Regions from separate parts of the Homo sapiens genome. Here regions 2, 3, 4, 5, 6 and 7 are each linked to region 1. The links are contacts of gene promoters, found by promoter capture Hi-C in blood cells and fetal thymus (Javierre and others, 2016). All regions are on one chromosome and are shown on one strand. Each heading gives the region's core, a stretch centred on a gene start or on the middle of the fragment in contact. The rest is flanking DNA. Distances are from core to core; before and after follow the strand shown. Region 1 holds the start of MED30 (mediator complex subunit 30). Region 2 has its middle 62 kb from the start of EXT1. Region 3 overlaps SAMD12 (sterile alpha motif domain containing 12). Region 4 has its middle 85 kb from the start of EXT1. Region 5 overlaps SAMD12 (sterile alpha motif domain containing 12). Region 6 overlaps LOC105375724 (a long non-coding RNA gene). Region 7 overlaps SAMD12 (sterile alpha motif domain containing 12).

Region 1 (3,623 bases), core at 550-3,049:
AATCTTCATCTGTAAAACAAAAATAATATCTACTACATGTAGTGGGTAATATAAGCAAGCATTAAAAATGGGTCAGCAAAATGGTGCTGGAACAACTGGATATCCAAATGCAAAACAATGAACTTGGATCCGTATCTGCCACTATGTATACATATTTAAAAACTCACAAAACTAAATATAGGTTGTAGACCTAAATATAAAGCTTGAAAGTACAAAACTTCTAGAAGAAAACAGAAACCCTTTGTCACCTTGGGTTAGGCAAAGATTTCTTAGGTATGACAGCAAAACCAAAATCTATAAAAGAACAAATCAGTAAGCTGGATTCCATCAAAATTTAAAATGTCTGTTCTTCAAAAGACAGTATTAAGAGAATAAAAAGGCAGGATAGACTGGGAGAAGTATTTGGAAAGCATCAAGACATAACAGGTGTTGATGAGGATGAGGAGAAACTAGAACCCTCAAACAGCAATGTTTACATTCCCACTAGCAATAATCGGGACGTAAAATGGCTCAGGCCACTTTGGAAAAGTTTCTTAAAGTATTAAACAGACATGTACTGCATGATCCAGCAATTCCACTCCTGAATCTGTCCAAGAGAAATGACACATACGTTCACACAAAAATTTGTCAGCAAAAGTTCATAGCAGCATTATTTACAACAGCCAAAAAGTGGAAACAACCCAAATGTCCATCAACAGAAGAAAAGGTAGGCAAATGGTGATACATGGATACAATGGAACATTACTCAGCAATAAAAAGGAAATTATTGATGCATTCTTAGTGAAGGATCTCAGACAAAAAAAAAAGCCCACATACTGTAGACTCCGTTTATATAAAACCCTAGCAAATGCAAATTAATTTATGATTACAGAACGCAGATCAATGGTTGCTTAGCGATGGAAGGTGGGAAGCAAAGATGTCAGAGGGGTATGAAGAAACTTTCTGGGATGATGTGTACACTATTTTGATTGTGGTGATAATTTCACAAGTATACAGACTACAGTACACATATATATCAAAACTTTAGGTGAGTGTAGTTTACTGTATATTAACTATGCCAAAAAAAGGAGGACTGTTTTTTTAAAAAAAATGTAAATTCTTCAACTCCTTGGACCTCCCCAGAAGAAATGCTGGAAAAAACATTTAAAGCAACCTAAAGAGGGAAGTGGAGTGCGACCCATCTCTGCCTTGAAAGGTGCAAGAGTTTACAGAGTAACTAAAGAGCTCGATTGAATCTAAAAAAAATTGGCTTCAATTCTGCAGAAATCTGGTCTGGAAAACATCACCTCTACAAATCCGACTTTTGGGGACACTCTTGAGTGTGAATGGGGGAGACCCTACACCTAAGGTTTGCCCAGGGCAGCCCCGATGACATCCACGGGCCCCACGTAAAGAGGAAACCAGAGGCCCTTTCCCTCCCAGCTGCATCCCCCTGGCCTCGCGCGCCCGCCTTCCTACCTGCATGTTCCTCAGGAGCTGGAAGATCTCCATGGTGCGGTACACGATGTCCTGCACTGTCTCCTGCCCGATGCGGCACAGCGACGCCGTGTTGACTTCCCGGGCGGCCTGCTGAGCCTGGGGCCCGGCGAAGGGCCCGGGCGCCATCCCCGACGCGGCCAACGGAGGGGTGGACATGGCGCGGCTGCAGCTTCAGGCCGGAAGGGGCCAGACAGCAGGTGTCAGGGGTCTGCCCGGAATTGGGAGGCTGTGGGGCCTCAGCGTTGGAACCAGCTTGAGAGACCCCCCGCGGCCCGATTTCAAAACAGCGGCCGCGACTTCCGCCCACTGTGACGTAACACGTCAGAAAACGTCATAGACACCGCCCACTCGGCGAACTGTCTCCGAGCGGAGCCGGGCTGGATTGGATTGGACCCCTGGGCGGGAAAGGACGGACGGGTTAAGTAGCCAATCACCAATTGCGCTCCAGCCAGAGGGGCGATGTTCTTGGGGAGCCTGGGGTGAGTTCCCAGAGTTCGTTTCCCAGTCTTGGCTCAGCGTTAGAACCTTCTGTGTTTAGTTCCTTGCGGAGCATTTTCTCTTAACAAGCCTGAGGTTTGTAGTATAACAGCTAAGAGACAGGTTAAAGTACTTGTTGAGTCGCATACAGGTGTAACTGGCAACCTGCGATTCGAATTCAGAAAACAAGATTCCTAAGCTTGTACGCTTCTCTGTGACATGATACGGACTCCCCGATTGCTCTTGGTCCCTGCTCAGATGTTTTATTCTTTGAGTTTTCCCAGTATCTGTAAGCAAAAAAAATGATCAACACACACACTTCTTTCTGACTCTGGCTCTTATTAGTGTCTGATTTTTTTTTCTTTTTCTTTTTGAGATGGAGTCTCGCTCTGTCACCCAGGCTGGAGTGCAGTGGCGCGACCTCGGCTCACTGCAAGCTCCGCCTCCCGGGTTCACACCATTCTCCAGCCTCGGCCTCCCGAGTAGCTGGGACTACAGGCGCCCGCCACCACGCCCGACAAATTTTTTGTATTTTTAGTAGAGACGGGGTTTCACCGTGTTAGCCGGGATGGTCTCGATCTCCTGACCTCGTGATCCGCCCGCCTCGGCCTCCCAAAGTGCTGGGATTACAGGCATAAGCCACCGCGCCCGGCCTACTGTCTGATATTTTATATAGCTTTCAGTTTGTTTACTTTCAGACTTTATCTCACCCTATCTACACACACTGCCAACTCCATGAAAACAGACTATTTTATTCACTTATTCTCAACACCTAGTGATTGGCACAAGTATCAATAAATACTTATTGAATGATTGTTGAGTGACATGATAAATGCAAGAGAAATTAAAATGTCTCTCACAATGTCTCTCACTTACTGTTCATCTCCAAAGTGGGGAAAAGTGAAGAATGTAAAATTAGTGATAGGCACAAACATTGCATTTTTTAGAAGTATCTGAATGCTCCATTGTACGGACTTTCCAGGAAATAGTTACTAAATATGTCATAGGAACCCTGGTAGAGATTTTAAACATAGTAATTCGCAGGTCTTCGGTAATTACCATTCGACAAATATTGGCTGAGCACCTATTATGTGCTGGGTGCTAGGAGTGAAGATAGCGTACTGAACAAACCAGGCAAAAGCCCTGCAGCATGTTTGTCATGGGGACAAACAGAACACTATTGTGATGAGCGTCTTGAAGCAAAAGTTCCTGATATCAGGGTGCTAACAATTTAGGAGATTGAGAACGACCTGAAGGGAGCAGTGTGGAACCTGAAGGTGGATAGGGAAGGGAGTAACGAATGATAGAGTCTTTTCTATGAGGACGAGGAAGGCCAGTGCCAACACCTGAAGTGAAGAGGCCTCCTAATGCTTTCTAGGATCTGGAAGAAGTTCAGTGTGAGGACGAGTGTTAGGAAATAAGGCTGAAGACAGAGGCAACCCTGGAGGATCTTCTAACCCATGTCAAGCAGTTGAGAATTTATGGAGTGAAATAGCAAGCCATTGAAGAGTTTCAAGGTGAGAGGAATAATTTGAAATATTCATTTTAGAACACTTATTCTGGTTGCTAAATGGGGAACAGATGGTGGGTTTCTATTGTCTTCTCTCCCAAAGGGGAATGATGATGATGATCATGACCTGTGCAGAGAAAGGAGACAGAGGGTAACT
Region 2 (3,414 bases), core at 751-3,250, 650 kb before region 1:
CTTTTCTCCACAATCTTGCCAGCGTCTGTTACTTCTTGACTTTTTAATAATAGCCATTCTGACCAGTGTGATATGATATATCATTGTGGTTTTGATTTGCATTTCCCTAATGATTAGTGATATTGAGCATTTTTTCATGTTTGTTGGCTATATGTGTGTCTTCTTTTGAGAAGTGTCTTTTCATGTCCTTTGCCCATTTTTAGTGGGGTTATTTTTTGCTTGTTGATTTGTTTAGGTCCCTTATAGATTCTGGATATTAGATCTTTGCTGGATGCATAGTTTGTAAATATTTTCTCCCATTCCGTAAGTTCTCTGTTTACTGTGCAGATGGTTCCTTTTGCTGTGCAAGAGCTCTTTAGTTTAATAAGCTCCCACTTGTCAAATTTTATTTTTGTTGCAATCGCTTTTGGAGTCTTTGTCATGAAGTCTTTGCCCAGGGCAATGTCCAGAATGGTATTTCCTAGGTTTTCTCCTAGGATTTATAGTTTTAGGTTTTACATTTAATTCTTTAATCCATCTTGAGTTGATTTTCATATATGGTAAAACTAGGGGTCCAGTGTCAATCTTCTGCATATGGCTATCCAGTTATACTTATGCCAGCACCATTTATTAAATAGGGAGTCCTTTCCCTATTGCTTGTTATTGTTGGCTTTGTTGAAGATCAGATGGTTGTAGGTGTGCAGCTTTATTTCTGAGTTCTCTAATCTGTTCCATGGGTCTATGTGTCTGTTTTTGTACCAGCACCCAGCTGGTTAGCCTTGTAGTATAGTTTGAAGTCAGGTAATATGATGCCTCCCGGTTTTTGTTTGTTTTTTTTGTTTTTTTTTTTTTGTTTTTTTTTGCTTTACTGCTAAATTTTTTGAAAGTCATATGGCATTGTGGTTACACAGGTAAAGATCCTGTTCTTTGGAAATATTTGCTGAACTATTTAGAGATAAAATTCCATGATATTTATAACTTATTCTAAATGGTACAACAACAAAAACCCACACATGTACACAAAGAAGTACATAAAGACATGCACACATAGAGGGGAAAAAGAAAGCAAGTGTGGCATTATGTTAATACTGATGGATTTGGGTGATGAGAAAATGCATATTCATTGCATATTATTTTTTTCTGTAGATTTGAAATTTATCCATATAAAATGGGGAAAAAATAATTTCTTCACCCCCACTTTTTACCTTTTTATCTTGCTTTATTTTGTGCAGTGGAACTAAAATTCTCTGAAATTTTGTATTTCTTTATTTCATTGATTATTTGGATCGTCTTCCTCCACTGGAATGTCAGCTCCTGGAAGTGGAGCATTTGCCAGTATAGTAAAATGAACCACTTTTTCCCAAGCACCTAGACCCAAACAACACTCAGTTAATAGTTATTAAATAGGTGAATGAATGAATGGCCCACGCAGATACACTTGACCCATGCCATGTCCCAGTCTCCTTAGAAGTGAGTCAGAAAAAGGTGCCTTGAACACCTCTTGTCTCCCAACAACCAAAAGGCCCTCAAAACAACCCCAAAAATCAACAAATCTGAACTGAGTGTCCTCACACATCCTGAGGATCTGCAAAAACAGGGAGCCTTCAGTCTCACTGGGGACATTAAACAGGTCCACATGCAACAAATGACTATGACAGCCCTTTTAACTTTACAAAAGCACTTTGGCAAACATTGCCCCATTGAATCCTCAGATCAATCCCACAGGATAGGTAAAATTATTAGCCTATTAACAGAGGAGGGGGCCAAAACCCAGAAGCAGCTTGCATGATTTCCCCAAGGTCCAGTACTTTTAACTGGCAGGACCAAGATTTGAACTGTACTGACTCAGAACAATTTTTTCTTTTTACTACACATCAGTCCATCTAAAATATTATTTAAAATTACTAACAGGCAGTATTTTTAATTGCCAGATAAGTTATGAATATATATATATATAGGCTGGATGTGTTGGCTCATGCCTGCAATCCCAGCACTTTGGGAGGCCAAGGCAGGCAGATCACCCGAGGTCAGGAGTTCAAGACTAGCCTGGCCAACATGGTGAAACCCCGTCTCTACTAAAAATACAAAAATTAGCCAGGTGTGGTGGCACGTGCCTATAGTCCCAGCTATGCGGGAAGCTGAGGCATGAGAATCACTTGAACCCAGGAGGCAGAGGTGGCAGTGAGCTGAGATTGTACCACTGTATTCCAGCCTGAGCAACAGAGCAAGACTCCATCTCAAAAAAAAAAAAAAGTTATGGATATGTATATAATTTAATATAATAAATATAAATATATAATCTATAGTTAAATATATAGATTATATATATATATAAATATTAGATAATGGTCAAGAACACATCCAAAAATAGCCCATCGCATAAAAGAAAACAGAGGCTGCTTGTCTAAAAGACAGGGCCTTGTAATGTACAATGACAGCTACTTGCTTTGTCAATAAGATGGAGGTTCCAGGGGCACCAATTTTAAGCTAAGCCTCTGGGTCCCTTAAGGCAAGTGCCTCTGTTCCTTAATCCACCAGCTTGCCCTTCTGCTCTCCACCTCCATAAAGACAGTCAGCCCATTACAGCGGCAGGCCTAACATGATAGTCTGACAACACCTAACACGTTGTAAGCTACACAGAACCCTGCCTCGATCAATACTTGGATGGAAGGCAAAGAAATAAAAAGAAATTTCAGGCATGGCAAGGAATAGTGTTGTTCACTCAGGAGGTTGCATTCTAAACCATGTGTCAATACTGTACCACTTGTCCAACAGGAAAGGGGAGCTTGTTGAAAAGTATGATTCCTATCTTATGCAAGGGACAGAAAACCCTATTCCTAGGAACTGGCACATTATGGTAAGTGAAATAAGCCAGTCATCAAAGGACAAATATCGCATGATTCCACCAGCACGAGGACAAATACCATCAAATTCCTAGAAGCAGAGAGTAGAATTCTGGTTACCAGGGGCTGGAAGGAGGGATAAATGGGGAGTTGTTGTTCAAATGGTATAAAGTTTCAATTCTGCAAGATGAATAAGAGAGGTCTGTTGTACAGCAGTGCCTATAGTTAACAAAACTATATTGTATACAGAAAAATTGTCAAAAAGGAGCTCTCAGGTGCTCTTATCACAAAAAAAAGGAAAGAGAGGCAGAAGCAAACTTTTGGAGGTGATGGATATATTTATTACTCTGTGGTAACGGTTTCATGGATATATGTGCATGTTCAAGCTCATCAAGTTGTATACATTAAATATGTGCAGATTTTTATATATATCAATTACACCTCAATAAAACTGTTTTAAAAACCCAATAGTACCTTCCAGTTAGAAAACAATGCCTTTTGGCCAAGGTTCAACTCAGCTAATTACATTCCCATCCAAATTTCCAATGGTCTCCAATTTGCTCAAACAGGCATGCAGACTTTGACTGCTGTA
Region 3 (3,606 bases), core at 989-3,488, 980 kb before region 1:
GGCTTCACAGAAAGGAACCCATGTCTCTATGTCCTAGGCATGGTTCTAATCACATTTGAGAACAACTGATGTGGAAAGAAAAGATGGAAGAGGAGATTCAAGAACAAGTGCATGCCGGGCGCAGTGGCTCACGCCTATAATCCCAGCACTTTGGGAGGCCAAGGCGGGTGGATTACCTTAGGTCAGGAGTTTGAGGCAAGCCTGACCAACATGGAGAAACCCCGTCTCTACTAAAAATACAAAATGAGCTGGGTGTAGTGGCGCATGCCTGTAATCCCAGCTACTCGGGAGGCTGAGGCAGGAGAATCACTTGAACCCGGGAGGCAGAGGTTGCAGTGAGCCAAGATCGCGCCATTGCCCTCCAGCCTGGGCAACAAGAGTGAAACTCTGCTGTCTCAAAAAAAAAAAAAAAAAAAAAAAAAGGCAAAACTCAGGGGCGTGTATCCTGGGGAGCAGATCAACATCTTCATGTATGTGGGGGGACCGTACAGATCACTGTCTACTCTGATGTGGGAAGAGAAGAGGCATGTGGTTAAAGATGGCATAAAAGGGCACTTTGTTGTGCCGGCATAGAGGACCATGAAGCCATATTAAGGACAGTCTTCTGTAGATGTTGGCTACCCCTGACAACTCTGTTGATTCTCTTGAGGACTAAGAAGTTGGGGAAGTGAGCATCTTTAATTTTTTTCATTACTCAAGGGAAGAGATCCTTGAAGCTCTTGGCCTTCAACTTGGTAATCTTGGAGTCTATGGCCAAGATTTATAAATTATTTGTGCTTTATCCACACTGACTTTTTAGCAGCCTCCAGTTTTCCACATTTTTTCTCTAGCCCTGGCTGACTGTGTTCTCCTTGAACACATAGACATATGAAACTATTCTGAAAGCCTACATATGTTCTAGAAATGTAAAACAGTATTGAATAATATCTGCTTCACTGAAGCTGCAGATCCACTCTCTGAGATAGGCAGGAGAGGTATTATTACCATGTAACTTTGGCTTGAGGAGGTTACATGACGTTGTGGACATGTGGCTAATAAGTCTTGGAGCTGGAAATAGGTCAGGTTAATTGTCCTTGCCACAATTTTTTCACTTCCTCTTATTCTTTACAGTAAGTCACTGTTGTAATCATTAGCTCTAGGTAACAATATTTGCTCCTTCTCTCCCTCTGTGCCTGTAGAAGACTGAACTTTCTGTTCAGTCTGGTTGGGTGGTTCTGGCAAATGAGATATGATGTGTGTCACACTCAGGCTGGAGCAGTCAATTACCAATTTGAGACCAAGTACCCCCTTTCTCTATTTGTGTTCATTATGGAAGCCCATGTTAGGATGAGCCTCTGGCAGTCTAAGTCCTCAAGTGACTATGATAAATTGAGCCTCTATACTGGACATGTAGTGTCAGCAGGAAGTAAACTTGTGTTAAGTCGTACAGATGTGGGGGTTGTTCATTACTGCAGCAGAACCTAGCCTATTCTGACAGATAATAGCCTCCATCAAATTTCCATCTAGATAAGCCAGCATGTATTCACTGGAGAGTGCAGGGGGTGTAAAGTGAACTTGGTGGGGAGATAAAGCATATATGGAAAATACTTCATAGCACAAGACACTATACTGTCTGAGGAAAGGTTCTGTGTTTTGACTGTCCTCTAGGTCTATCTACCATTTCTATGATATATGTCACACCTAATAGGTGCCATGTAGGTATTTGTTGGGTGAATGAGTAAACATATACTTTTATTTTAATGTGAACTCTGTGTATTCTTTCCATCAAGATATATCTTGGCAATATCATTTTTTGTAATCATTTCTATTAATTTTCATATTTTCTGTGCTATACACCATAAGCCATGAAAATTCTAGGTGTGAACACTGACCTTTTCCAGGAATTTAGTTTGGGTAAAGTATATCTGCATTATTATTAAACAGCTAGCGTCATAGATTTTAGAGGAAGAAGAAAGGGGTGCAGTCGTGACATTATTAGAAATTCAGAGCAGTGATTTCGCATTCTGATTTGGTGATATGCCTGGAGCTATCCACATACCTCTAGCAGTGTTGCGAGGTAGTAAATGCTACAGGCATAACATGCCAACAAGCAGATCTTAAATAAAATATATTCGTGTATATTAACTTTCTTATTTTATATTTCATTGCAAACACAATCTCATTCTTCTCTATATTTTTTATACCATAATAATGGACCTGTCTTCAAGGGAACAGCATCTCGTTGTATAAACAGGACCCTTAAGCTGAGACTGTTCCTGTGACTTGGCGGTCATTGAAAAGATTAAATGGGTTGCAAAACACCGTCTTTAAAAGTGAAGGTAAATTTGTCTCAGCTGGAATCAGAAGCCAGCTGGGCCTAAGAATGATGTCTATGTCTACATAGCATATCCTGATATAACACATGCCTTGCCTTGTTTCAGTTCGTTAATTATCTGCTTCCTGTTCTTCTGTTTAATTAGTCCTGTGTTGTTTCATTCTTTCCACTTCCTGACTTTCTTCCTTTCTTTCATATTCTCCATCTGTTTCTGCCTTTGAAAATTTCATTTTGGTTTTTAAGTTTAATTGATGTCTCCTCTGACATCTCAGATTTCATTAGCATTTCTTACTAGATTTGTTACATTCAGTTTAGCCATTTTTACATGTCTGAAAACTTCTAAATCCCTGATCAAGTGTATTCATCCTCAAAATGGCATCTTTTTTAAAAAAAGTAAATAAATGTTCTCAAATGCTGTTCTTTTTTTTTTTTCTTTCCCCCCACCCCCCCCCGCAACTTAAGTTATTTTAGATTCCAGGGGTACATGTGCAGGTATGTTACATTGGTAAATTTTGTGTCGCTGGGGTTTGGTGTACAAATGACTTTGTTACCCAGGTAGTGAGCATAGTGCCCTATAGGTAACCTCCCCCTCCTCCCACACTCCCCTGTCAAGTCGGCCCTGGTGTCTATTATTCCAATCTTTGTATCCATGTGTACTCAACGTTTAGCTCCCACTTATAAGTGAGAACATGAGGCATTTGGTTTTCTATTCCTGCATTAATTCGCTTAGGTTAATGACCTGAAGCTGCATTCATGTTACTGCAAAGAACATTATTTCATTTTTTATGGCTGCATAGTATTCTATGATGTGTATGTACCACATTTTCTTTATCCAGTCCACCGTTGATTGGCATCTAGGTTGATTCCTTGTCTTTGCTATTGTGAATAGTGCTGTGATGCACATATAGGTGCATGTGTATTTTTGGTAGAATGATTTATATTCTTTTGGATACACACCCAACAATGGGATTGCTGGGTCCAATGGTAGTTCTGTTTATAAGTTCTTTCAGAAATCTCCAGATTGCTTTCTACAGTGGCTGAACTAATTTACATTCCCACCAGCAGTGTGTAAGTGTTCCCTTTTCTCTGCAATGTCGCCAACATCTGTTATTTTTTGACTTTTTAGTAATAGCCATTCTGACTAGTGTGAGTTGGTATCTCATTGTTTTGATTTACATTTCTTTAATGATTAGTGGTGTTGAACATTTTTTCATATGCTTGTTGGCTATGTATATCTTCTTTTGAGAAGTGTGTGTTCATGTCCTCTGCCCATTTTTTTAATGGGGTCATTT
Region 4 (3,471 bases), core at 45-2,544, 680 kb before region 1:
TTGCTTCCAATTTTTCCTCTATGATAAATAACCTCTAGTTTACCTATTTGTGCATATAGCTTCTTTCTTTTTTTTAGATTATTTCCTTAGGATATACTCCTAGGAATGGAATTACTACATTTAGGCATATGCATTTTCAATAATTTTTGAATAAATTGACATTATTTTTCCAGTTGACAATGCCATCAACAATAATAGTATTCTGCTTTCAATACAACCTATCAGAAGTATTATTATTTGATATTTAATACACTTACATAGTACCTTTTATTTTTTCATTTTCTCAAAAATAGCAAATGTTAATCAAACACTTGCTTACAAATAGTGCGTTCTGTCATGTTTTGAAAAGCCAGTTAGTTAGATTTGAGAGCCAGGTTTGAAAACTGAGGTAGATTTTTTTTTCTTTTGCATCAAGAATACCTGCTGTGCTTCTCTCCCATTGTCTGATAGTTTTGTGTATTAGAAACTAATACTGATATTTTTCTGAGCAAAACATTCCATTGTACTCATATAATAATTCTTGAAGACCCATGTATAAGGAACTGTAGGGAGTACCCAAATAAAATAACGGGAACTTTAGACAATTTAAATTAGAACACTCAGGAAAATACATTAATATTTTTATACTAGCACTCCCAAGCCCAAAAGCAGGGTTGCAATTCAATTAGTTTAATCTCTGGTCCGATTTTAATGACTTTCTCTATCTAGTCTCTAACCTTCCCAGCTAATCTGACTTCGCAACTAGCAAACTCAAGAGCTCCAGCCATTCCGCTTCCAATATTTTTTTTCTAGATTGCATCCCAAGAAATCTTTCTGATAAATGAAACCCCCATCTCTCTCCCACAATAAAATGCTTCACACCATCCCCAATCTTACCTTGCACCAGACCAAGCAAATGCATGAACCTTCATAATACATGAAATGGTTTCCCAAACTGCAGCCCCGCCATAGGGCTGGATGCCAATTCCAGAGATCTGGTTTTGCCCTCCCTTCCAGGCAGCTTCACCTATTTCTCAGTTGGGTGTCTTCCATGCCTTGCCAAATGGTAGAAAAAAAAATTTCATGAATATAAGCCACTGTAAATCCATCCTGGCATTGAGTAACCATTATTCTGACTAGAGCTTTCTCTTTGGCCTAAGGGTGTTAGGGTTTGTTTGAATAAGATAATTGCTACATATCAGTGCCTGGAAACATAAAGGAAAGAACTTACCATATTTCCCCCTTTTTCTTCTTGCAGCATCATCTGAGGGTTCTCCATAAACACGGTTAGCCTTCCAAGCTGCTGTCCTGCCAGTTGATATGAACATGGCCTGTTCCTCACAGAAAGACTAACCCATGGCACTGCCAGAAGATATCCTTGGATCGTGGACAGATTAACTGGATTAACTGAAAAAAGCACCCATTCAGTCAATATTATGGGTTTTGGAAAAATCTTGCTTTGCTGTGGATTTAAAATGAGGTGCATAATATAATGCCAACTCATTCCAAGTGGTCATTGGCAGACCATTAGCTGGAAAATTGCTTCCAGTTTTCATCACTGTGCATAACTCAAGTTCCCTTTGGGGAGCTGTCTGTGCCCTTCACTAGAAGTCCTGTTTTAGCATGGCAACTACTGGATTATTTTATTATGTGTGCAGATGGCATGATGTTTTAGAAAAAAAAAATTACAGCAATTCTGCAATCTCAGTGGAAGTGTTCACAATATTATGCCCTGGTAGGAATGTAAACACGTCTCGATTATGTTAGTTATGATGTCTAAAGGTATACTGTCCAACTCTTAAGCACTTTATATGAGAACACTACACCAAGATGAATCAGCACATTCAGCACATGTGAGAAATCAAGTATTTTCTTTTTATTTTTATAAATCTTAGTGGTTTTTTTTTTTCCGGCTCAGACTGTCCAAGACAAACTCCACTACTCGCATATCCCCAGTTGTTTGTGGTAGGTTGATGTAAATATGGCCACAATACTGTTAGACTTCACCTCCAGATACTTTATTGAACAACTGGTTTACTTCTAGCACCAAAGGGAAGAAGAAGGGGGTCCAGTGATGGTGATATCTTAGCTTGCTTCTTTGTTCACAGGCACTATTGACCACATGAACATACAGGTACTCAAATACAGGAGGCTTCTATTTGGCTCCTCCAAGGGAGGAGTTCCTCCAAGGGAAAAAAGGGGATGGTATTCTTTTAATCAAAGACCATGGTGGATGGATGGTAAGGGCAACAGAATGCAATTCTTTTGTGTGGTCTGACGTTAACACTTCGGAAAAAATTCTAAGTCAAGTTGAAATCGCCATTCTCTCAAGAGAGAAACATCAAGAGAGAAACATCAAGTGACCCCACTATGTGCCTAGAGAAGGAAAAGGGTCAAGTCCTATACTAGGTTCCTTACTTAGGGTAGAACCTACTAGTCCCTTGTTAATCCTTTCTGGGATTATACCTGTGACTAATTTTTTTTTTTTTAACTATGTCTTACGACAAAGCACAGTCCTGGGAAACCAGTCAACTTAATTATTGCTTGTCTTTGAGCATTAGAGACATGTTCATATTGACTTGCTACATAACACTGTAGCATGTTTTTTCCTGAAAATATCAAGTTGGTTGAATGGAAAGCTCAGCAAAGTATGTTCTGTGTGCCCACTGTCCCAGCCTGGGACTGACGGGCATCAGAGGCTTTGCTTTAAAATATGGGTAACCAGTTCTGGAAGACTTCCAACGCAAGCAAGCTTGGTGTTTTAGGGTGTCTCCAGATACATAAGCATTGTCTGCCTCCGCTCAGGGTCTCAGGAAATACACAGCCCATTGGAAACCACCCACGCCTGAGATTTGGAAACCTGACGGAAAGGGAGGAAGGTCCAAATGAGTCAGCAGCAGGATGACTCACCACAAGCCTGGCAGGCTGCAGAGCCAGAGAAGGGGGCTTCCAACAAGGAACTCAGAGAAGTTGCAGTCACCACCAAGATCTGGCCCTTCGGCAGGTCAGCACCAGGACTGCCAGGCCCTCTGCAGACCGTAATTCTCTTCACATCTATAATTAGGAGGCCAAACTCCAGCTGCCAACACCCTTGGACACAATATTCCAGTCTCCACTGCCCATCTCATGTGGTTCAGTTCTAATAGCAGGTCTTCTTCTTCCTTTCATTCCTTCCTTTATTCAGCAAGCATTTGTTGAGCATCTACTATGTGCCAAGCATTGTGCTTGGGCAACAACAGTCCACAAAGCAGACTCCCCACCTGCCCTTATGAAACTGTATCTCCTCCTCCCCAACATTATCACCACCCCACCATTTCCACAATGAAAACTGAATTCAGACAGCATTCTCCATTCTGCCAGAGTAACCTAGGAAGAAGAACATGGCAGCAGACGGATCCTCAGGGAGGAGGCAGCAGAGTGACAGATGGTAAACTGCATCAGGCCACATATTTGCACCTTTCAGATACAGCCAACTCTTCCAGGGCCTAGACT
Region 5 (3,801 bases), core at 916-3,415, 900 kb before region 1:
GTTGCCCAGGCTGGTCGAGGAAAAAAAGATGTTCCCTTTCCCAAGGCCAGTGACCTAACTGTGGTCTTCTCCTTGCCTACCGTCCCTTGCTCCTCCCACACCACAGTTCTTTTCATCTGTTTCTCCTCTGGGTCTTCAGAATGTCTCCCTCCACTTTTGCATTTCAGTTTGAAGACATGCTGCATCCTGTATCCATCTCCTCTTCTCTCTTCTTACTGCCACTTTTCTGGTCTAAATTTTCACAGACAGAACCATTTAGTCTCTCTTCTTCCTATGATCCTGCCTCATGGCTCTCTAGGAAAGTATTCTCTTGTCTTTTTTAAACCGGACTGAACCAAACTGCTTCCTGCTTATTGAGAATTAATGCCTACTGAATAACGTCACAATTCCTAAGTTTGGCTTATGAGGTTTTTCGTCAGCTTCATTTTAACCATTACAACAATCCATCCTGTCCTGAAACCACAGCACATCACTCTCATTCTTGCCTCAGTATTAGCTTCGTGAACTTTTGGTCATTTTCAGGTGCTGACTGTAATTATTCCCCTCCTCCCTACCCTCTCTGGACCTCTCCAAGCAAAACTAATTTTTCCATTCTGTGTTTGCTTTACATTTTACACAATTAATAAATGACAGCTATTATTGTTAGTATTATAACATTTATCACGATATTAAAGTTATTTGGTTCCATGTTTATCTCCCTCCCACCAGCCCAGAAACTTCTCTAAGGTAGAAATTGTGTCTGATTTATCTTACTATCTCTAGCTGTGTTAACCCAGTGCCTGGCATAAAGTAGGCATTTAATAAGTGTTGATTGGATTAAATTGGGTTTGTTCTTCCTTTGATAGTCTTAGCACTGAACTAAAAGCCTTTCTTCATTTCTGTTGATAAGAATACTTTGATTAGTCTTTCAGTTTCCTGATTTTGCCTCCTTTTCATGAAGCTCATCCTATACTTCCCTATCTGCAACTTCTTACACTTACATTCCATTGATGTTCCAGTCGGTCTTCCTGTCTTGTTCTTGGAGAAACCCCATTTTACTTTTTTAAAGAACTCCTATTTTGGATCTGCACTAAGCCCCAGAATATCATCTTCAAGTGCGATTGAATGACAGTCTCCAAATTTTGTAGCATCCTGAGCCCCATGTTCCCTTCAGCAGTTCTTCCCAGGATGTTGTGGTAGACTGTGTCAGAACTTTGCTCAGTGCCAAGAGTGATTGTCGCAGTGCTGTGAAAGCTCACTGAGTCTGCTGAAATTTAAGTCAGGTGCTGTTTTGTAGGGTGGAAGCAAATATCCTTTATCTAAAAAGCTTCTATTTAGGGCAGCAGGAAAGAGGCCCTAATCTGTCACACCATAGGTGCATTGAATGCAGATTTCCCTGTGTTACACAAGTAACAAAGTGAAATACAAATACAGTGTTTTGTTTCATACACCCAAAGTGTCCACATTTGGATAGAACAATGCTATTAATAGATTTTGGTTTCCAGCCGTTTGTGGCAATTTAGCTAACCCTAAAACTACCTTGGTGACATTGATAGATACAAGCTCAGCAATTACAACTTAAACAAGAGCAATGAGAATAGTAAATGGCTAAAGTATGATTACATTGAGCCATATAAAATTGCCAATATTGAACAATTTTGACTAGCAAAAATGGCAGTTTCATTAGATTTGCCATGAAATCAGAATAATGCATTTTATTTAAAGGAAGTAGAAAATAAGTAGGAGCATAATATTTATTGAGCATCTACTATATGCCAAACACAGTGTTTAGCACCATTTATGTATTAAATCATTTAATTTTCATAAAATGTCTAAGATGTGTTATCCATCTCATTACACATGAGGAACCTGAGGTGTGAAAGTTATGACTTCCCTAAGCTCACACAACTAGTAAGGTAAAATAGGTAAGACCATATTAGGAGGATTCTTCTAAACTGGGTTTAGGCAAACTTTTTTTGTAAAGGACCAGATAGGAGAGCCATTTGGCTTTGTAGGTCGTAGGGTCTTTGTCACAACTGCTAAACTCCATGTTTGTAGTATATAAATGAAAGAAGTGGTTGTATTCCAATGAAACTTTATTTACAAAAACAGGTGGCAGGCCAGATTTAGCTCAGAGGGTCGTAGTTTGCCAACCCCTATTCTAATCTCTTCTTCCCTTTGCCCAAATCAAATCTGTTTCCTTAGTGATATTTATAAAAGAAATTTAGAATTCTTTTCTAAAAATGTGCTACTTTTTTTTCCTTTTTACATACTAAATGTAGGAAAATTAGAAACTGTACATACACAAAAAATAAAAAATATAAAATTCCCCTCTAATTCTTACATCCGGAAATAATCTCTTATGTAAACATTTTGACATCTATCCTTTCAGATAGTTTTCTCTATACGAATATTTATTTCTAAGAATGGCATCATACCTTAAAGGGGTGGCATAGTTCTCTCTCTTCCACTAAAAAATAAAATACATTGTGCATGAATTTCTGTGTCAGTGGTTGAATACAAAATATGTTATTTGACTGTTTGCAGTTATTCCCTGGATGCGGTATATGTGTCTGTTTTCCAGATACATTGTACATCTGGTCCCATGTGCTTCTCCATTCAACCCCTGTCCCCGCTTCTTTGGCTGGGTCCATGGCCCAGATTATTAGGTTGTACTGTGAATTCTTCTACCTCCTACCCTCCTATATATACACACACAAACACACACAGAGGCACATGCAAAACATAGCACCACAAACCTTCCATCTCCACATCAATTAGCCCTTAGTTGTAAGAGTCCCGATTTTCTTTCTCTAGCAATTTGTACCTTGATAGTTATCAGATTTCTTCACTTTTCCCATGATTGTGGCCAGTCACCAGAGTGAAAACAGACCTAGGTAAATGAGCAGCAGAAGAAATCATACGTCTCCAAGGCCCTGTCACTGTCCTCTGTAGATGCCACCCTTGAGGGCAGTGTAATTTCTTTGAAAGTTTTCTTTCTGTCAGCCTCTCTCTTCTCCAAGGTTCTTCCAAAAGAGAAGCTTGCACAGCTTTTCTGCAATTCATTAAATTTTCAGCATCTTTCCCCAGTGGTAGGTACACAGCAGGTAACATAGACAGGAGGACATTAGAATTCCTTCCAAGGGAGCAGTTTCAAAAGGTCACATGTTGCCACAGTGTCCTTCTATATAAATCTTTCAGGGGATGGTGAAGCATGTATCTAGTGGGGGAAGATAGGACTGCTGTAGTTATTCCATAAGGATCTTAACCTTAAAACTTCCACTTAGTAATACATTCACAGTGATGATCAGTTCAGCACATAGAAAAATGGGGACAAGATATACTTACCTTTGCAAAATGAGCTCCCACTAAGTTCAAGTAAAAGAATAGCCTCTCTCCCAACAAATGAAGAAAGCTACAGAGCAAAGGATGAAGTGATGGCTGGGGCTGAAAAACGGTACCACTGTAGAATATAAAAGGGAAGCCACTTAGTGTCTCTAAACAATTTCCTGAACATACTCAGTTAACTATTCTGAGGAAGTCCCCAGAATCTTACAGGTTTTGTTATCCACAAGAAATTTCCCACTGATATTTGTATCATACTTGAACTTTATAAAGTGATATTTCACACACATTTTCAAACCTCAGACCCCTGTTGATAGAATATTAGTGTGAAACTCTTTTCAAATGAGGAATCTAGAAGCTCAGAGATATTAAAAAACGACAAAAAAAAGAAAAATTGACCCAGACCCCATAGCCAGCAGATGGCAGTACTCAGCTCCTCTGACACCTAAGGCTTTTTTTTTTCTGCTTCCAGTTCAA
Region 6 (3,331 bases), core at 826-3,325, 770 kb before region 1:
ACTCTCTTTCCCTTTATCTCAACAGGCGAATGAAAGAAGTTGAGGGTTTTTCCTGTGTGTTATTAATCTAAAGAAAAAAGAAAAGGTGTATGTATAAAGATAACATGAAGTTTATTTGTTAGTGTCCCTAAAAATAAACACAGTGAAACACTGTCAAAATAGGAAAAGACTTTTAACATTTTCATTGTACTAGGAACTGGGCACAATTAAATTGAAATATAAATTTGTAAGCCAACATTTCAGTTAAGCTGCTTATGAGAATAATTAGGCCAGTGAAGCGAGGAGCAGGCCAGCCAAGGAAATGGTGAGTTTGGCTAGAATGCTCTCTCTGCAAGTATATGTTCTCTCTGTAAGAGTTGTAAAGGCATGCATTTAGTAAATAAAACAGTTCTACACTGAAATTCAAAAGACACTGGAAAAAGACTAATTATTTTTCATATTTATATATTTGCAGTCATAGAAATCCTGAACTGGAAGGGATTTTAGTAAAACCCTTTCCTAACTGGTCACCACCAAGTTCCCACTCAGAACTTAGTTTCCCTATGAGTTTTACTTTTTGCAAGATCCCCTTTACAATTTGAACTTAAGTAGTAATTAACTTGATTTATCACTAAGTAGAAACATGATCCCTGAATGGGAGCAATGGATTAGCATGAAATAACTAGTGTTAACTCTTTCAGTTAATGTAATTTAAGCAAAAAGCAAATAAATGTGATGTTTTGACTAATTTGTGAATCATATTATGGGTTAATATGATTTCTTGGCTTTTTCTAAGAAGGAAAAATAGTGCGAGGAGACCCACTGCTACCTTTGAGGGCAACCAGTGGGTAGCCATTGTTTATTCCAGCCCACTTACTGTATGGTGGGTTCCATGGTTCAAGACCAACACACTACAGTTTAAGGCACAGTCAAGGCTAGAGTATAGATCTCTCAATGTCTAGTCTAGCACCCTTTTTGTTTAACTACACTGCTACTTAATAAACTTGTGAGGCTGGAGAGTTTTTAATGCCATTAATTGCAAGATTTTGGAAGTGTGACTGCATTTGAAAGACCATAGAAATAGCACTGTGGTAACCCATTTTCCTCTCTGGATTTTTCATTACATTTTCTTAATATCAAATAGGGCATTTTTTATTTTTGGTCTTATGTGCAGTGCTGTTATATAAGGTTATAATTTTTACTTAGCTGATCCTTTGCAAGCTTACAAGTCATTGAATCTTCCTTATTTGAGTCTTTTAGTGTGAAAAGTGCACACCCAAACCCTTCTGTTTGATCATAGAAACAGACAAGACCTAAAAAGGCTCAGAAGATATCTCTCTTGAATGAATAATTTTGTAAATTTGCTTCTTTCTGATTTGGAAATGTAGTTAGATCTTTCTGATCTAGTTACATTTGGAACCCAAGTCTTTACTCTCTGTATCTCAAAAGAAGCTGGCAGGTAACTCAAATGCACAGTTGGGGACTTAATAAAGCATATTTTTAAATTAATTAAGAGCACACTAACTTTAGAACTATGTCCTTTCAGAACTTTAGGGAGAATGCAGTTGGCATCAAAAAAATGATAACAAAAAATACAGTTACCAAGAATTAGAACAGGTGGCAACAACTTAAGTAGAGTGTCAGCAGCCCTGATTCTGGTTAGCACTGCTGTAAGCTAGAAGCCAGCACAAATGATTGGTCCATCACACATGGCAACATCATATTTTTAAACCACCTGAGCATGCAGTGAATGTGAAGAATGTGTTACCTTTGTTTTTAAAAGCCCTTTGGAGAATGTGGGTTTGCTGAATGCCACCTAGACCCTTCATATCATTCAACTTGCATTTGGAAAATAGAACATTTAACTGCCTGCCATTTTGATCTGCTGCTGCCAAGGAACCTATATGCTGAGGCTGCTTCAGGGGGACATTTGTGTGATCTAGCAGGTGTCTCTCTTTGAACCTATTAATTAGGAAAAGAGCAGAGGCAGATGTGATATATTAGTTGGCCCTAAGATGGATTGCTCTGAAAAATCTCATATTGGCAAGGGTGATTCAAGTTGCCAGGAATCCAAAGTTTGCTGTGTGACATCCCCAGAAGTCTGATGGGGTTTGACTGGTTTACTCCACCAAATGAAACTGCTGAGATGACTGTCTTGAGGTGATTAATAAAGTGCATAAATCTTAACTATGGGAAGAAAAGAAGATGAATTGATGGATGCACATATTGGAAATGTAATGAAACAAAATTGAAGCTACCAGGATTTGCTAATATATTACAGAAAAACAATACTGTGTTTATTGTTCTTCACTGGTCTTATTTTGTTGGCCTCAATTCCAAAATGACCAGGAAGACATGTTAGGTTTTATTTTTCATTTTTCTAGCATGGGAGACCTGAACTGGCAACAAAGTGGGAAAGTAATAATGACATCATATATATGTGCCCCTGGTATTTATTATTTTTTATTTCTCTCATGTTAATGAGGCTAAAAAATTTTTAAAAGATTGGTTCAACTTCCATCAAAGCTGCTATTGAATGCTGTTAGTAATCGTATATGAAGTTTCAGTAGTTTTTGAAGTAATTAGAACCTTGGAGCAAATAAATACTAAATGGACTCTCATCTTCAAAGTTATTTTTTCTAACTAAATAGCTCTGTTCTTGTATAATTATATACTAGTCATGAAATTAAAAATCATTTTAAATGACTAGATGCTTTTTTTAGAAGTGTTTGTTTCTTGCTAGTTATTGTGGACTAATTGTAGTTTATGAGGGTCTTCAAAACATCTGAAATTGCTGCCTTAGATTTCTAGTCTCCAAAGGTTGCAAACTTTAATTCCAATAGAAAAATACAATGATGAGGAAGAGTGTGTAAGGCAATCAAAATTAGAATTTTTGTGATTTTGAAAAAATCTGACTTTTCAAAGATCATAACAGACAGTTATGCAGGGTGATGGCATAAAAAAAGCTTTATTACCACGCGAACCTGAATTTGGCCCCAGCTCCACTAGACACTGTGACCTTTGGCATGTTATTTCATTTCTCTGAGCCTCAGTCTTGGCACCTGTAAAATGGGGATAATAAATAAGTATATTGCAGTATTGTTTTGAGAATTAAAGATAATATCTACAAAATCTTTAGCATGGAGTCCATCATCATAGTTAATAGCTAGTATTATCGTCACTTCTTTTCACCACCATTGTAATTTTTATGATATAAAAATTTACTGCTCATAGGCCCACGCTTGGTCTTCAGGACAGTCAGTCCATGACACCTTGTACCAAGGTTCTTTTTTCCAATGGCAAGTTTGTATCAGAACACGGGATTTAAATTAAACAATCCAGAAAAGCAGAA
Region 7 (3,813 bases), core at 1,002-3,501, 880 kb before region 1:
TAGAGCTGATATTTCTCTAAGTAAAATCCCCAGATGACCCTTTCTCAGCCTCATTTATGGTGCTTGTTAAAGCTACATTTTCCCAGGCCTCACACTAGAGTCACTTAGTCAGAATTCTGGCCCGTGAAATCTGCATATATACCACTCCTTTGGTAACTCTTATGGCATTAATGTTTGTATGCCACTACTTAAACTTTTTAATAACACAAACTCCAAATGGAAGTTAAGAAAAAGTGGGTTCAATCTATGATGACTGCATTTTCAGGCAAACAATCAAGGTGCTTTGAAATCAGGACTGTCTCAGACTATTTCAACCACCTATCACATCAAATGGTCTAGCATATGGGTAATTGGAATTCCAGATGGAAAAAAGAAAGAATGAGACCGAAAAAGTATTTGAACTTTCTTCAGGAGGCCAAGAATTTTGCAAAATTATTGCAGATATCAAAGCACAAATCCAAGAAACTCAGAGAATACCAAGCAAGGTAAATAACAAAAATCAGCTAGGCATGGTAGCTCATGCATGTAATCCTAGCACTTTGGGAGGCTAAGGTGAGATAATCACTTGAGCCCAGGAGTTCTAGACCAGCTTAGGCAATGTAGTGAGACTGCATCTCTACAAAAAGTTTTAAAACTTAGCTGGGCATTGTGGCACATGCCCATAGTCCCAGCTACTTGGGAGGTTGAGATGGAAGGACTGCTTGTGCCCCGCAGGTCGAGGCTGCAGTGAGCCAGAATCAATCGCACCACTGCACTCCAGCCTGGGGACAAAGCAAAACCCTGTCTCAAGAAAAAATAAAGGTACCAAAAATCTATCAAGCAAAACACATGACACTGAGACTTATATTGCTGGAAACCAAAGGCAGTATATTGTCTCTATTGCAAAGATATGGAAATACCTTTGTCATCAAGAATGCTATGGCCATCTAGATTCAAGTTAATCGCTCTTTTTTGTACAAGGATGACAATGTTGTTTCACTACCTCTCCAGAGCTTCCTCTCCCTCTGATTTATTTCTCTGGTGCACTTCATTGTATTATGTCATGATAGACCTGACAAATCTCATTCTTTAAAGTTGACCCTGTAAGGTCATGTTCTCCAGATATTCACAATCTATTTTAAGAAACTAGGGTTTTGTTTTGTTTTTGTTTTTAGTTTAATGCAGCTCTTACTAGGGCCTTCCTGTGTGGCAAGTACTAAGTGTATATGGATCATCGAATTTAATCCTCATTTTCATGACTACCTTGTTAAAGAAATACTACTATAATTTTTTTTATTTTAGAAACTAAGGATAAAGGAGCTTAAGATAATGTTCCAATTTACCAAGCTAATAAGTGAAACAGCTAGAATTTAAATCCAGGGATTCTTATTCCCTAATCCTACTCTTACCCACTCTGCCATACTGCCTCTTATTAAAAAAAAAATACACCACACACACACAGACTGTACATAATATTTATAAAAGTATATCAGACTTTATTCCCCCTTTTCACTGAGAATTAGTCCAATTTGTGCAAGTTAGGACATATTTTTGTTCCTTTCTCTTTGTTTTCATTAGCCCAGTTGCAACAGTGACCTGGTTGAAATTAGGAAATACTCTTGAATTTGAAGAAACTGAACTGCAAGGCTGTCATGAAGATGCAGCATTCCCTTCACAGACAGATATTTGTGATGCCTTATTTGTGTGAAGATATGTGATAAATCACGAGAGAAGCTTAGTACCCAATTCACAGTGCAGGCTGTGTGGGTAGACTCTTGACAGGGATTTGGGTAAGTTTTAGATATTGCTTATCAGCAAGTTTTTACCCAACTTCACTATGTATTCTGGCTGGCTTCTCTATTTTGGGCAACATGCAGCAACTAGTTTTTAGCATCAGATTTTTTGTGTGTGTGCATGAAGAAAAACAATAAAAGATCAATAAGATGATGGCTTACCAAGGATTTGTGTTATCAGAGGTCATATAGTAGAATCTGAAGATGCTTAATATTTTGGGGTAATTCTGCTCTGATTGTCTTAGTGAATGCCAGCGTCTGTTCTTTCATGCTTTTACATTATCAGACAGGGCTCCTTCTGCCATATCTCCTCCCTTGCTTTCTCCCAACACACACAGGAGAATATTTATGGCTGCCCATTGCTCTTAACTAGAAGGAAAACAAGGCCAGGAATCTCTAAGGGTTAAATGACATTCCATAGATAAAAGGTTGGGGTGTTATCCACACAATAACAGCCTTCAGTCTTTGACCCCATAAGGGGCTTTTCTGGCTAGAGCAGTCCCCTTATAAGCCTCAGTCCTTGGACATTTTGTCACTGTTTACATTTCTATGCAGAAAACATGGAAAAAGTGTTTTCTCCATGATGTTTCAGTGTTATTTCTCCATCTGCCTTTTCTTTGCATCTTACGTATTTCTCTCTCATACTTCGATCTTGCCTTTTATTAAGGGCTCTGCTCCTTAAATGTTCTTTTTTAGTTTCTGTACTTTATCAAAACCTCAGAAGTACCTCCGGTGACCCAACATCTCTGGCATATTAAATCTGAGTGTCAAATGCATGCACTTTCTTTGATATATGATCTAATAAGCCTTTTCTATCTCTAATTTCAATGATTTTGTAATACCAAATTATTTCCTTTTGTGGTGTGTGATTTTTTTTCTTCTCCTCTAACTTCCCTAAGTTCAATAGGTTTTCATAATTAAATGCAGTGGATTGTTTAGAATAAAACCTTGGAAACATGCCTTTTTCTTATGGAAAGACAAGGAAACTGAGCTCTGTAAATCAGAATATTAAGCTTAACATATAATTTATAAGGAAGAAATAAAGGAAATGTAAATCACCCTCAAGTAAGCTCACTTTCATCTTAAAAATTAGATTGAAAATCGTGTGGATACATGTGTAAGTTATGAGAAGACATTCTGAAAATAAAATCTCAAGGTTAAATACAGAAGCACATTTAGTAGATATTTGAGCAATCTCCAGTATCTTCAAAGGTTGTGTATGTGTGTTCAATCCCAGCAATGCATCCCATGACTTAACTCACTTTAAAAGTGAGTTCTCACATATCTAAAAACTCCTCATGAGTTTTTAAATTTTTTGATCTTTTACATGAAGCCCTTGGCTGGACACAGTGGCTCGTACCTGTAATCCCAGCATTTTGGGAGGCAGAGGTGAGAGGATCGCATGAGGCCAAAGTTCGAGACCAGCCAGGGAAACATAGTGAGACCCTGTTTATACAAAAAAAAAAAAAAAGAAGAAGAAGGGAGTCTGTGGCACACACCTATAGTTCCAGTCACTTGTGAGGCACAGGCAGGAGGATCACTTGAGCCTAGGAGTTCAAGGCTACAATGAGCTATGATTGCACTACAGTCTGAGTGACAGAGCCAAACCCTGTCTCTAAAATAAATAAAGCCCAGATCTGTCATAATCCAATGCAGAAATATGTAGGACCTGAGGCGAAAAGGAACCAGTAAGACTATTGCTTTACAATCAAAGAAAATCTGAAATGTTATAAATTCACACTTTCAGCCATGTTCAGTTTTCAAAGTACTCTATGAATAAGGGAGAACTCTAGGAATATTTTCTGCAAACACATTTTCTTTTCATTAGAAGCAAGATACAGAAATGATCTGGATGCTTTGTATTGGGATGATTTGGCACTGGAAAATACAACCCAAACCAAATAAAATTTGATATTCAATTAGAAATTTGTGGTTTTAGACCTAACAATTCTATAACATCATTGTAAGGATGGTGCCATCTAATTGTTCAGTTTAGGCACATTTTGAAGCTATTCTTCACTGTAATAGTGAAGTTGTAACA

What was found. Contacts are between HindIII fragments. The CHiCAGO score rates a contact against its expected background, and 5 or more counts as called.
Region 2: a contact is called between a fragment that was not itself captured here and the fragment with the promoter of MED30 in region 1, in 1 of 17 cell types (fetal thymus). The highest score is 12.1, in fetal thymus.
Region 3: a contact is called between a fragment that was not itself captured here and the fragment with the promoter of MED30 in region 1, in 1 of 17 cell types (M2 macrophages). The highest score is 6.1, in M2 macrophages.
Region 4: a contact is called between a fragment that was not itself captured here and the fragment with the promoter of MED30 in region 1, in 2 of 17 cell types (fetal thymus and monocytes). The highest score is 8.7, in fetal thymus.
Region 5: a fragment that was not itself captured here is called in contact with the fragment with the promoter of MED30 in region 1 in 6 of 17 cell types (fetal thymus, M1 macrophages, M2 macrophages and 3 more); the score reaches 13.6 in fetal thymus.
Region 6: a fragment that was not itself captured here is called in contact with the fragment with the promoter of MED30 in region 1 in 1 of 17 cell types (monocytes); the score reaches 7.5 in monocytes.
Region 7: a fragment that was not itself captured here is called in contact with the fragment with the promoter of MED30 in region 1 in 3 of 17 cell types (M2 macrophages, endothelial precursors and M0 macrophages); the score reaches 6.2 in M2 macrophages.

What each region holds. Positions count from the first base shown.
Region 1 is chr8:117,518,889-117,522,511 of GRCh38, reverse strand. It overlaps MED30 (mediator complex subunit 30), which reads right to left and starts at 1,799. Exons shown (of 4, transcript NM_080651.4): 1 at 1,459-1,799. The coding sequence starts at 1,635. LOC105375716 (a long non-coding RNA gene) reads left to right here and starts at 1,792. Exons shown (of 7, transcript XR_928569.3): 1 at 1,792-1,958; 2 at 3,335-3,473. The HindIII fragment of the contact is 1,953 bases long and covers 205-2,157 here.
Region 2 is chr8:118,172,452-118,175,865 of GRCh38, reverse strand. It overlaps a transcript of SAMD12 not described here. Among named protein-coding and RNA genes, the nearest start is that of EXT1, 62 kb to the right of the region's middle. The HindIII fragment of the contact is 8,861 bases long and covers 1-3,414 here.
Region 3 is chr8:118,496,884-118,500,489 of GRCh38, reverse strand. All of the region lies in intron 2 of SAMD12 (sterile alpha motif domain containing 12), which reads left to right. Among named protein-coding and RNA genes, the nearest start is that of SAMD12-AS1, 120 kb to the left of the region's middle. The HindIII fragment of the contact is 5,867 bases long and covers 1-3,606 here.
Region 4 is chr8:118,195,499-118,198,969 of GRCh38, reverse strand. It overlaps a transcript of SAMD12 not described here. Among named protein-coding and RNA genes, the nearest start is that of EXT1, 85 kb to the right of the region's middle. The HindIII fragment of the contact is 2,879 bases long and covers 1-2,733 here.
Region 5 is chr8:118,419,189-118,422,989 of GRCh38, reverse strand. All of the region lies in intron 3 of SAMD12 (sterile alpha motif domain containing 12), which reads left to right. LOC105375724 (a long non-coding RNA gene) reads right to left here. Exons shown (of 7, transcript XR_001746062.2): 6 at 3,328-3,442; 7 at 1-3,199. Among named protein-coding and RNA genes, the nearest start is that of SAMD12-AS1, 200 kb to the left of the region's middle. The HindIII fragment of the contact is 1,714 bases long and covers 1,309-3,022 here.
Region 6 is chr8:118,287,949-118,291,279 of GRCh38, reverse strand. It overlaps LOC105375724 (a long non-coding RNA gene), which reads right to left. Exons shown (of 7, transcript XR_001746062.2): 3 at 2,955-3,041; 4 at 1-67. It also overlaps a transcript of SAMD12 not described here. Among named protein-coding and RNA genes, the nearest start is that of EXT1, 180 kb to the right of the region's middle. The HindIII fragment of the contact is 1,745 bases long and covers 1,203-2,947 here.
Region 7 is chr8:118,400,972-118,404,784 of GRCh38, reverse strand. The region is part of intron 3 of SAMD12 (sterile alpha motif domain containing 12); the gene reads left to right. All of the region lies in intron 5 of LOC105375724 (a long non-coding RNA gene), which reads right to left. Among named protein-coding and RNA genes, the nearest start is that of SAMD12-AS1, 220 kb to the left of the region's middle. The HindIII fragment of the contact is 1,072 bases long and covers 1,716-2,787 here.